Linked DNA regions of Homo sapiens: region 1 is linked to region 2. Evidence: promoter capture Hi-C in 16 types of primary human blood cells and fetal thymus (Javierre and others, 2016). All regions are on one chromosome and are shown on one strand. The core of a region is centred on a gene start or on the middle of the fragment in contact, and the rest is flanking DNA. Distances in the headings are between cores, read along the strand shown.

Region 1 (5,796 bases), core at 907-3,406, 5.4 Mb after region 2:
CCAATCTGCTGGGATTACAGGCGTGAGCCACCACGCCCAGCCCATTATTTTGTACTTTTAAAAAATAATTGGTAACTCCTTTGTATGTGAGAACACAAGAATTTAGAAGTCAAGCAGGGAAGCATCGACTTCATTCTTTTCTACTGTGTGATTCTGAGATGCTATTGTTCTCCTTAAAACCTAAATTTTCCATCTGTAAAGTGAGATGAAAAATCTCTAATTCCCTGAGAGTGGGGGAAAAGGAATATTTAATTCTTTTGAACTTTGTACTGTGTATATATATTGCCTATTAACAAAATAATAAAAGGACATAAGTCTACGTGTCCAAATATCCTTTTTGCTTTTCTTTGTTTTCTATGGTTTATAATAATCAGCTTGTATTGGGAATCACTGATGTAAAAGTCAACCCACTTCACTGACTACCATAGGCATCTCTTGGAATAAACTGGCTAGAGTTTATTCTTGCTAATAACTTTGACTATATTCACCCACAAGTATTTACTAAGAGTAGCCCCTGTGTGGCCTCAGTACTGAAGTAGTGAATTATTTAACTAGTCTATAGTGAATTATTTAACTAGTCTAAGCAAAAATAAAGTCAAACAGTGCTAAAACATGGTCATAGATCCAAAGTTAAGTACCTATTCATTCTCTCACTCTGAACTGGGAAGTCCCAGTTCTTCCCTCTAATTGCAGGGCATCACTGAGGATGCAGAATTCCGAGTGGTGCACTACACTTATTCAAACTGATGGGAAAACAATGCCATCAGCATGAATCAATAGGAATGGTGCTCTTGGCCAGGAGACTGTTATTTCTGGGGACGGCACGCACACTCATTTCTGAGGCTGAGAAATGACACTATTAGTGTTAGACTTAGCAGTACAACAATGCTTTCCAAACTTTTTTACTAGGAAATAACTTTAGCACCAGTAAGTATGTATGTATATGTGTGTATGTATATATATTTATATGTATATCTCCTGTTTATATTTTACAAGTCTGATTTTATAAACTTCCAGATGTTCCACCAGAGTTTTCTCTTTTTTGATTTTACCTTATTACTGTCCTTTACTGCTGTTCCTCTTACTCTATAAACAGAAATTTCCTAAGCTTCTTCCACTCCCCATTTTCCTACTCTCAAGGCTCTGAGAATTTGAGCTAAGAGACAACCTTAAGTATTGGGCAAAGGTCACTGAACTACCATTCAGAACCCAGGGATTCAGATCATGACTGGCTGTGTGATTCTGAGATGCTATTGCTCTCTTAAAACCTAAATTCTTCCATCTGTAAAATGAGATGAAAAATCTCTAATTCCCTGAGAGTGGGGGAAAAAGAATAGTTAATAATTTATCATGAAGTGTTAGCTCTTTGGGATAAAAGTTTCAAATGAAATACGAGGATTTAAATCCAAAGGTATGACACTGATTTTTCAAATTTAGCATTGTCAGCACTTAACCATGTTTCCTAAAAGCATGAATTCACTCAATCCCAAATGCCATGGTATGAGACAGTTATCTGTCATCACCACCTTCCCCATTTTATAGAAGCACAGAGAAGTCACTGGTCCCTGGCTATTCAGCTAATTAGTGACAGAGTCAGGAGTCAAAACTAGGTAGCTGGGTGCCAGAGTCTAGTTACTAGGCAGCCAGTAACTACGAAATCACAGCCAGTTAACTTCCAACTGTGTCCCTTCCTTGCTCAAAAGCCTTCAGTGGCTCTTGAAGCCTAATAATAAGTACAGACTCCTTAGCTTAGCAATAAAGACACTCCAGCTACCTTTCTTTCCTGTTTCATTCCCCATGAAAATCCTTCCTATGTCCTCCCGTGCTCCAGCTCAACTGTACCAGCCACACTTCCCTGAATAGATCCCATGTGGTCCTGCTCTGTGCTTTGCCTCTGATCATCTCTGTATCTGGAATCCACCTATTCTCACCTCCTCTTCACTTTTCTACATTTTAACCTTTCTTTCAAGGTCCTTGCAAGGGGCCATGTCCTTCATGCATTTTCCCCTGCCCTTCTCAACCACAGCTGGTTGATAATCTTCCCGGGGAATTTTATCTCTGCTCTCCTCTGCATGTATCAGTTTCTGTACATACTATGTTCCCTCCTTAGTAAGAGATGAGCTCCTCGAAGGCTGCAATATTATTTTCTTCCTCATGGAACTTTTAAATTTTATTAAAAATTTAAGCCATTCCTGTTCTTTTTTTAAAAAAAAAACCAAATGCATGCATGCTTGTTGCAAAAAAAGAACCCTCACAGAATACATCTCTTAGAAAGTGAAATCCACCATTATCACCCCTCTACCCCTGCCCTAAGAGAACTGTGGTTAACAGTTTGGAATGTATTCTTATAGAGCTTTTTCATGCAAAAAATTATTTACAGAAATGGAATTATACTACATGTAAAGCTCTGTACTTTTTTCACTTAAAATGTATAGTATTTTTCATATAGATATCTACCTCATTCTTTTTTTTTTTTTTTTTTTTTTTGAGACAGCGTCTGGTTCTGTTGCCCAGGCTGGAGTGTAGTGATGGAATCATAGTTCACTGCAACCTTGAACTCCTGGGCTCAAGTGATCCTCTTGCCTCAGCCTCCTGAGTAGCTGGGGCTACAGGTGTGCACCACCATGTCCAGCTAATTTTTAAAAATCGTTCCCAGAGACAGATCTCGCCATGTTGACCATGTTAGTCTGGAACTCCTGGGCTCAAGTGATTCTCCTGCTTTGACCTTTCAAACTGCTGGAATTATAGGCATGAGCCACCCCACCCAGCCCTCATTCTTTTCTAAGTGCAGCATAGCATAAGATTGTAGTGATGCACCTGTTCAATCCCTTCTTGATGCGCATGAAAGTGATTTCCAATTTTTACCATTATGACCAATGCTGCAGTGAATATAAATACATATGTGTGTGCATGTATTGCTATCTATATATCCATATAACTTTCTTTGGATAGGCAATTGCTAGGTGAAATGGAATGGAGATTCTAAATGATGATAAATATAGGAAGTGTCAGCGGTGGGAAGGAAGAGTCTTGTTTTATGCTTTTCTGCATCCTTCACAAGGCCTAACATTGCATCTACCAGTGTAGCTTGGTAGGTAAAAGACCAGGCTCTGGCCTCTGGCTGTCCAGGTTTGTATCAGGGCTTTATCTGTATGCCTTAGCCATCTCATCACCATAAAATAATGGCAGGGTCATTGTCATTATAAAGCTTAAATGAGATAATACATGCATAACAATTAGCAATTAGTAAGTACCTGGAAAACAAGTAAATGCAAGACATACAGAAGGAAAAATGGTAATGGGTTCAGATAATTGTTTGTTGAATGAATTGGACTGAATAAAACAATGGCAGTTTGAGCAATCATTCTAGAAATGGATGGTACAGAACTATTCATACTTTGCTATCAAAACCCATAGCAACTATTTATAAAATGACTGGCTAACATTAGAGGTGCAGTGTATAGCCCTGGAGCAATCCATCTCTGTGCAAAATGAACTGGCCTGAGCCAGAATCAAACCAATGACCTTGGCCTCTTTGGCCCCACACTTTCCCTAATAGAACTAACTGGCCCCAGCTGCAGCCTTATGTAATGGGTATCTATGAGGACAGAACAATAGTTCCCTGCAGGGTACACTGGCTCACCACTGGAGGTTGTTAGGTTATCTAGCTAACCAGCCATTAACATTGAAAATGAATAGAAAGTACATAAATAAATGCTTAGAGTAGTGCATAAGGTTTTCTGTTGAGATTCTTAGGTTCTAGGCCAGAAGTTTTCATCTTGGTGGCAAGGTTTCTATACCAATACTAGAAGATTCTAAGGTAGTCAACTCTGGGTTCTAGAACCAACTCTGCCACTAACTATTATAGCTTCAAAACCTTGAGCAAATTGTTGAGCTTTATTTTACCTTGGTACAACAAGGGGGCTGAAATAGCTCACATGAAACGTCCTTTTTTGACATTCCTTTCCCCACAGGTACAGTCACATTCTCAGACATCAGGGCTGTTTATTGCACTGAACAAAATTAAAGTATAAAATTAGGCAACAGCAATACTGTACTTTCAAAATGTGTCAATGAAGTGATGGCAAAAGTAAACATAAGAAGCTAGACACAGCCAGGTGCGGTGGCTCACGCCTGTAATCCCAGCACTTTGGGAGGCGGAGGCGGATGGATCACTTGAGGTCAGGAGTTCGATACCAGCCTGGCCAACGTGGTGAGACTCTGTCTCTACTAAAAATACAAAAATTAGCCGGGTGTGGTGGCGCAGGCCTGTAATCCTAGCTACTCGGGAGGCTGAGGCAGGAGAATCGCTTGAACCTGGGAGGCGGAGGTTGCAGTGAGCCAAGATCATGCTGCTGCACTCTAGCTTGGGCAATAGAGTGAGACTCTGTCTCAAAAAAAAAAAAAAAAAAAAAAGCAGCAACAGCAGCTAGACACAGAAGGCCACATATATATGATTCCACTTATATGAAGTATCAAAAATAGGCAAATCTGTAGACTGGATGGAAAGCAAGTTAGTGGTGACCAGGGGCTGGGAGAAGAGAAGAATGGGAGGTGACTGCTTAATAGGTATGGCGTCAACTTTAGAAGCCATGAAAATCGGTTGGAACTAGACAGTGGTGAGAGTTGTACAACATTGTGAATTTACCGAATGCCACTACATATACACTTTAAAATGGTAAAATTTATGTCATGTATACTTTATCACAATAAAAAAGTGTCCCCCCAAAAAGAGAGAAAGGGATGGCAAAACATAGCAGGGCACAGACTCACTTGACGCCTGCTTCAAGGTGACATGAGAGGAGGGTGGGGGTGGGGGTCCCTCTGAGGAAGCCCTGGGAGATCCAGGAATAAGAGAGTGGACATTAGTGCAGGATTTGTCATCTAACTGGGGCCAGGTCCTGGCCAGGGACAAGTGTAGCAGTAAATGGGGCTCCAGTGAAGTATGAGCATCTCCCCGAGTGCACTGATGATGACCTTCCCTCAGCCCAACATGTTCCTGGCCTCCTCCCACTGGTGTCAAACTGTATCCATCTAAGTCCCATTTCAAAGCCCACTCCCTTCTTGAGCTCCCCCACCGTCCCCCCCCACCCCCCATCCCCCATTCAGAGACACATTTCCCTCTTTTTTATTTATTTTTTTTCTGAGACAGGTTCTCACTCTGTCACTCAGGTTGGAATGCAGTGGCATGATAATGGCTCACTGCAGCCTCAAAATCCTGGGTTCAAGTGACCCTCCCATTTCAACCTTTAGAGTAGCTGGGACCACAGGTGCATACCTGGCTAATTTAATATTTTTTATTTTTTGTAGAGATGAAGTTTCCCTAGTTGTCCAGGCTGGTCTTGAACTCCTGGACTCAAGGGATCCTCCTGCCTTGGTTTTCCAAAGTGCTGGGATTACAGGTCGTGAGCCACTGCCCCTGGCTATATCTTGTCCTTCTAAAAGTTGACAGCACTTACTCTCTGTGCCATTCCCAGGGCACAAGCCTGCTTCAGCCTTCTAGAGACACCTGTATTCTCTTGCCACCCAAGGCCTTCTGCTTCTCTTTGCCTCCCAGCATCCAAAACAGTAGTGCTCAGGAAATACTTGTGGCTCTGTGATGGAGTGACTCAGGCAGCCCCACGGGGAGTAGAGTTTTATGAGTTTAATATGAACCATACCCTGAAATCTGAGAAATTTACCTCATTGCTCATGCTGGAAACCCTCAGTTCCAGTCGGATTTGCTTGGAGCTGGATGGAATTGTGTTGCTTTTCATACTGAAAATGATCATCTAATTTTTAAATTTAAAAAACATT
Region 2 (6,138 bases), core at 104-2,603:
CGAAGGCTGACACAGGAGAATCGCTTGAACCCAGGAGGCGGAGGTTGCAGTGAGCTGAGATCGCAACATTGCACTCCACCCTGGGCAACAAGAGTGAAACTCTGTCTCGAAAATAAATAAATAATAAAAAATAAAAATAAAAAACTGTGAGGCTCAAGTCGGTGGCAAAGGGCAGGAGTACTCACTTATACAAGTCGGGTTTGAGAAGCCCTAGTATCACCGAAAGTCTCCCTTTCTCATCTTCATTTTCTCCATGTAGGAATCCTGCCACAGAACCGCATTCAGTAACTTGAAGCAGTGAGGTGAGCACCTCCCTAGCAACTTCCCGAGATCTCGGAGTGGTCCATGGTTGCTCCAAGCTGTGTGTGATGGCAAAAATATAAACGGGTCCTGCCAAGTGATGCAGGCCCGTCTGCCATGCAGGGCCGACCAGGGAATTCTTAGCAGTCTCAACTTTCCCTAACAGTTTAAGAAACAGTAACCCAACTTGGGCTGCTTTCTCGGCCGCTTCGGAGTGCCCATCACCTCCACCTTCCTCCTCCTTGGAGGGGGCTGCATACTTCTCCAGGGCTTTTGCTACCTGCCCCAGTGTCTCCGGCATTCCGCGGAGCCGTGCACCAGTCCCCTCAAATAACCTATCAAATTCTGTGGCTTCTATTAGATCACCGAGGTCTTTAAGAACTGCATCTTTTACATTGCCTCGTCGTGCCTCCGGGCGGGCAAGACAGTGTAAAATCTTGGAGAAGGCCTGTCCAAAGGCGGAGTGAGACAACTCCTCGGACAAATTAGAGTCTTCCTGCGATGGGGCTTCCAGAGCGCTGTCAAGCTCCATTCCTGACTGCAGCACCAGAAGGCTGGTCTCTCCCACAGAACGAGGATGGAGGCGGGGAGGGATCCGTTGAAGAGGGAAGGAGCGATCACCCAAAGAGAACTAAAATCAAATAAAATAAAACAGAGAGATGTCTTGGAGGAGGGGGCGAGTCTGACCGGGATAAGAATAAAGAGAAAGGGTGAACCCGGGAGGCGGAGTTTGCAGTGAGCCGAGATCGCGCCACTGCACTCCAGCCTGGGCGACAGAGTGAGACTCCGTCTCAGTAAAAAAAAAAAAAAAAAAAAGAATAAAGAGGAAAGGACGCAAGAAAGGGAAAGGGGACTCTCAGGGAGTAAAAGAGTCTTACACTTTTAACAGTGACGTTAAAAGACTACTGTTGCCTTTCTGAAGACTAAAAAGAAAAAAAACTTAAAAATTTAAAGAAATAAACTTCTGAGCCATGTCACCAACTTAACCACCCCCAGGTACCTGCAACGGCTCGCGCCCGCCGGTGTCTAACAGGATCCGGACCTAGCTCATATTGCTGCCGCAAAACGCAAGGCTAGCTTCCGCCAGTACTGCCGCAACACCTTCTTATTTCACGACGTATGGTCGTAAAGCAATAAAGATCCAGGCTCGGGAAAATGACGGAGAGGTGGAACTATAGAGAATAAATTTGCATATATAATAATCCGCTCGCTAATTGTGTTTCTGTTTTCCTTTGCTAAGGTAGAAACAAAAGAATAATCACAGAATCTCAGTGGGACTTTGAAAATATCCAGGATTTTATACGTGAAGAATGGATGTATCGCATTACGGTAGTCACCCTATGTGTAAATTAGTGGCACATACTTGGCACTCCTTAATGTCAACTATAAGATGATCCTTTTGTAGTTCATGAGCGTGATGATTGGGTGTTCATACGCTTGTGTGAGATGTGCCACCCTTGAACCTTGTTACGACGTGGGCACATTACCCGTCTGACCTGAACTTCAAGGATCGATTTAACACTTGTATTTGTGGGCTTGTTACTTATGATAACAGGTGGCCTAGTTTCATGGCTTTGTGTTTACCGTTTTCGGGTGCCCTTTTTTCTGGCTGTATGCTACACGCACGGGTGCTTTTCCGTTGTCCAACTGTGTAATGTGTTTTTGTGTTTGTTCTTTTGTGAGTCGGAGTCTCGCGTTGTCGCCAGGCTGGAGTTGCAGTGTTGCGATCTCGGCTCACTGCAACCCCCACCTCCGGTTTTCGAGAGATTGTCCTACCTCAGCCTCCCGAGTAGCTGGGACTATAGGCGCGCGCCACCACGCCCAGCTAATTTTTGTATAAATATTGGCAAGGATGGTCTCGATCTCTTGACCTCGTGATGCGCCCGCCTCGGCCTCCCAAAGGGCTGGGATTACAGGCGTGAGCCACCGCGCCTGGCCAATGCAGAGCTTTTTAATGGCTTTAATTTTTTAGGTTTGGGAGATACCTGCGCAGGTTTGTTACCTGGATATGTTGTGGGATGCTGGGATTTGGAGTGCAGCTTAGCCCGTTTTCATTGCCCCCTCTAGTAGACCACAGTGTCTGTTGTTGCCACTTTTATGTCCACGTGTTCCTAATGTTTAGCTCCCACTTATGAATGAGAGCATGCGGTATTTGGTTTTCTGTTCAATGCAATACTTTAGCTGGTTTCTGGAGCTAGCGTTTTAAAGCCTGTAGCCACAAGCGTTTGAAAATTCAAATTCTAGCGTCAAGGTAGAAGCCCCCAGCTGGCGTCTGGGGCAGCCCTGAGGGAGGTGGGTCGTCGGGTTGGCGGATCCGGCTTGGGCCCGCCCCGCCAGTGTCGGCGCCGGGTGCGCAGGGACAGCAGAGCGCTGTCTTGGGCATGGGTCGCAGGCGGCGCCCGGAACGGGCCAGGGGAGCTGGAGGCTGCAGACTCGGGCTCGGCGGGTGTAGGAACCAGTGGTGTTTGCTTGGGTTTTGAGAAGGCGCGAGAAGGGTCGCGCCTGTGCGACCGCCCTGTGTTGGGTCCCCCACGCCGCGTCGGCATTGCTTGTTCCCTCTTCCTGCGCTTTCCTGGAGGGTAGAATTGCGTCCGATTGGCCTTCAGTTCCCGAGGAGCTGCTTCCATTTAGGACCTTGTGACTCTCATAGCTTCCACGGTTTCGCAGGAGCCCGAGGAGGCAAACTTCATTTGTGCCACTGCACAGGCGGGAGCTTCGGACCCTGGGAGGGGTGGCGCGAGAGAGACGTGTCGCCAGCTGCTCGGAGAGGGACTCTTATTCAGCCTCTAAGGCGTCAATTGCGCCTCCAGGGTTCCAGGAGTCCAGAGAAAGCCCTTCGGGGTCTTCTGACCTGGGGTAGGGTGAGGGGCGTGTGTGCGCGCAGGGGCGAGGGAGGGGTGACGTGTCAGGTGTCCTTTGTCCTCGCGAGGAGGTGGTTATGGGGTAGAGGGACATACAGTATTTTCGTCCCACCTTGGGGAGCGCACCAGCTTCTTGGTGCACTACTTGCAACTGTCCCATCTGCGGTGTCTTGCTGCCTACTCGCCTGCCCTTCTTTCCATTTTGCTGTCTGACCTTGGGCAAAAGTTCGGTAGCCTCTCTGTGCCTTCATTTCTTTTTATTTTTTATTTAATTAAAAAATATTTTTTTAGAGACAGGGTCTTGCTCCGTGGCCCAGGCAGGAGTGCAGTGGCGTCATCGTATCTCACTGCAGCTTCAAACTCCTGGGTTCAAGCGATCCTCCCGCCTCAGTCTCCCAGTAACTGGGACCACAGGCGCGCCCTACCACACCCTACTAATATTTTCTAATTTTTTTGTAGAAATGGGGTCTCGCTGTATTACCCAGGCTAATCTCGAGCTCCTGGCCTCGCGATCCTCCCTCCTTGGCCTCCTAAAGCGCTTAGATTACAGGTGTGAACCACCCACCTCGCTGGTGCCTTAATTTTTTTTTTCTTTTTCTTTTATTTTTCCTTCCTTCCTTCCTTCCTTCCTTCCTTCCTTCCTTCCTTCCTTCCTTCCTTCCTTCCTTCTTCCTTCTTCCTTCTTCCTTCTTTCTTTTCTTTCTTGTCTCCCTGTCGCCCAGGCTGGAGTGCAGTGGTGTGATCTTGGCTTATAGCAACCTCTGCCTCCCAGGTTCAAGCGATTCTCATGCCTCAGCCTCTCGAGTAACTGGGATTACAGGCACCCACCACGCCCAGCTAATTTTGTATTTTTACCAGACACGGAGTTTCACCATGTTGGCCAGGCTGGTCTCTAAATCTTGACCTCAAGTTATCCACCTGCCTTGGCTTCCCAAAGTGCTGTGATTACAGGCGTGAGCCACCTCGCCCAGCCACCTTAATTTCTTTATCGGAAAAATGCAGGTAGTAATAATTCGTACCACTTAGGAGTGTTGTGAGAAAGGAATTATATGTAAACTGCTTAGAACAATATCTGGTCAGCAGAAAGTTCTACATAGGTGTTGGCTCATGTTAAACCACAGCTCCTGTGTTGTTACATTTCCTCTTTCCAGGGTAATTTTGTGGTTAGGACCCTCCCTCTCGGCCTCTTTCATTCAGCTTTCCCTTCTCTGACCAATTGGTGGCACTCATGATTTTTTAAGCAATTTCAACCACTGGTAACCATCTCCTCCCGAGGGGACTCTCCTGTTTGCAGGCCCAAGTGGAAGCAAGATGCCAATAAATAGACAGTTATTGTGTCCCTCCTGTGTGCAAGCGTCTCTTCCCTGTTCCATGTGCCCCTTGTGCTAAGTGGACCCAAGCTATTACTTCTTATAAGGAAAGCACTTGTATTGTGGAGATCTCCCCATCTGCACTTCTGAGTTTCCTGAAGCCAGAGACCACGTCTTTATTCCCAGTGCCTGGCACAATTTGGTCATGCAATAAATGTTTGTTGAACCCACACATCCATCCACAGAGGACTGGCTGAATAAACTATGTATATCCACACAATGCAGTTTTATGCCGCTGCACAGAGGAAAGAGAACCATCTCTGTGGACTGCCTTGGAAATCTAGGATGTATTGTTAAGTGAAAAAAGCAGGACAGAGACCATGTGTATGTTGCCTTTATTTTTATTTTTCCCCCTTTTCACACGTGTTGAAATGCTGCCTTTCTTGTAAGAAAGATGGGAAAATAGAAATAATGATGTGTGCATTTGCTTACATGTTAAAGATGCAATAGAGTGTAAATTATAAACTAAGAAAAATGGTTATAGGTAAGAAAAGAACGGGGTGAAGGAAATAGGAATGGAAGCTAGATTTCTCTGTATACACTGTGTTTAATAGCTTCAACTTTGGATTCATGTAAATTTTTTTGTTGTTGTTGAGATAGAGCCTCACTCCAGTCCAGGCTGGAGTGCAGTTGTGCGATCTCGGCTCACTGCAGCCTCTGCCACCCCGGGTTCAAGTGATTCTCCTGCCTTAGCCTCCCAAGTAGCTGGGATTACAGGCGCCTGCCACCACACACGCCTGATTTTTGTATTTTTGGTAGAGATGGGGTTTTACCATGTTGGCCAGGCTGGTCTGCAGCTCATGACCTCACGTGATCCACCTGCCTCGGCCTCCCAAATTGCTGGGATTACAGGCATGAGCCACCGCACCCGGCCACATAATTTTTATTTTTTTTTGAAGCAACAAAAGCAGAGACGTATTGAAAATGAAAGTATACTCCTCAGGGCAAGAGTGGGCCAAAGCAAGCAGCTCAAGAGCCTACATAACTATTTTTTTAAAAGAAAATAACAAAGCATTTCCTAAAAGAAAAGAAATAAAGAGTACATTGAGTCACTGGCATAACCACACAAATTAACTGTAAAACTCATTAATTTGACTCTATATCCTTAGTGTGACAAAGCCTAAAATCAGAAAAAAATCAACTGCATTTAATAATGGTATACTGTTGGTAATATTAATATTGTTTAGGTGTGTTTCTTTTGGGTTTGTTTATTTGTTTTTTGAGACAGAGTCTCCCTCTTTCGCCCAAGCTGGAGTGCAGTGGTGCGATCTCGGCTCAGTGCGACCTCTGCCTCCTGGGCTCAAGTGATTCTCCTGCCTCAGCCTCCCAAGTAGCTGGGATTACAGGCATGTGCCACCTTGCCCAGCTAATTTTGTATTTTTAGTAGAGACGGGGTTTCACCACGTTGGCCAGGCTGGTCTCGAACTCCTTACCTCAGGTGATCCACCTGCCTCGGCCTCCCAAAGTGCTCGACCCACCGCGCCTGGCCTGTTTAGGTGTTATTACATGTATTTTGTATAACTTATATATGTATATAAGATAACAAGTAACAATATTATTAGAAACCCAGATTTTCAATGAAAGATAAAAGAGATACTAGTATCAAA

The links. Contacts are between HindIII fragments. The CHiCAGO score rates a contact against its expected background, and 5 or more counts as called.
Region 1: a fragment that was not itself captured here is called in contact with the fragment with the promoter of TTI2 in region 2 in 1 of 17 cell types (activated CD4 T cells); the score reaches 6.1 in activated CD4 T cells.

The regions. Positions count from the first base shown.
Region 1 is chr8:38,893,621-38,899,416 of GRCh38, forward strand. It overlaps LOC124901937 (a long non-coding RNA gene), which reads right to left. Exons shown (of 2, transcript XR_007060893.1): 2 at 5,630-5,796. Among named protein-coding and RNA genes, the nearest start is that of PLEKHA2, 4.8 kb to the right of the region's middle. The HindIII fragment of the contact is 2,100 bases long and covers 1,107-3,206 here.
Region 2 is chr8:33,511,782-33,517,919 of GRCh38, forward strand. It overlaps TTI2 (TELO2 interacting protein 2), which reads right to left and starts at 1,354. Exons shown (of 8, transcript NM_001102401.4): 1 at 1,301-1,354; 2 at 186-931. The coding sequence starts at 832. SNORD13 (small nucleolar RNA, C/D box 13) reads left to right here and starts at 1,694; the gene lies at 1,694-1,797. RefSeq lists enhancers at 1,386-1,525, 3,046-3,335 and a silencer at 1,956-2,005. The HindIII fragment of the contact is 19,476 bases long and covers 1-6,138 here.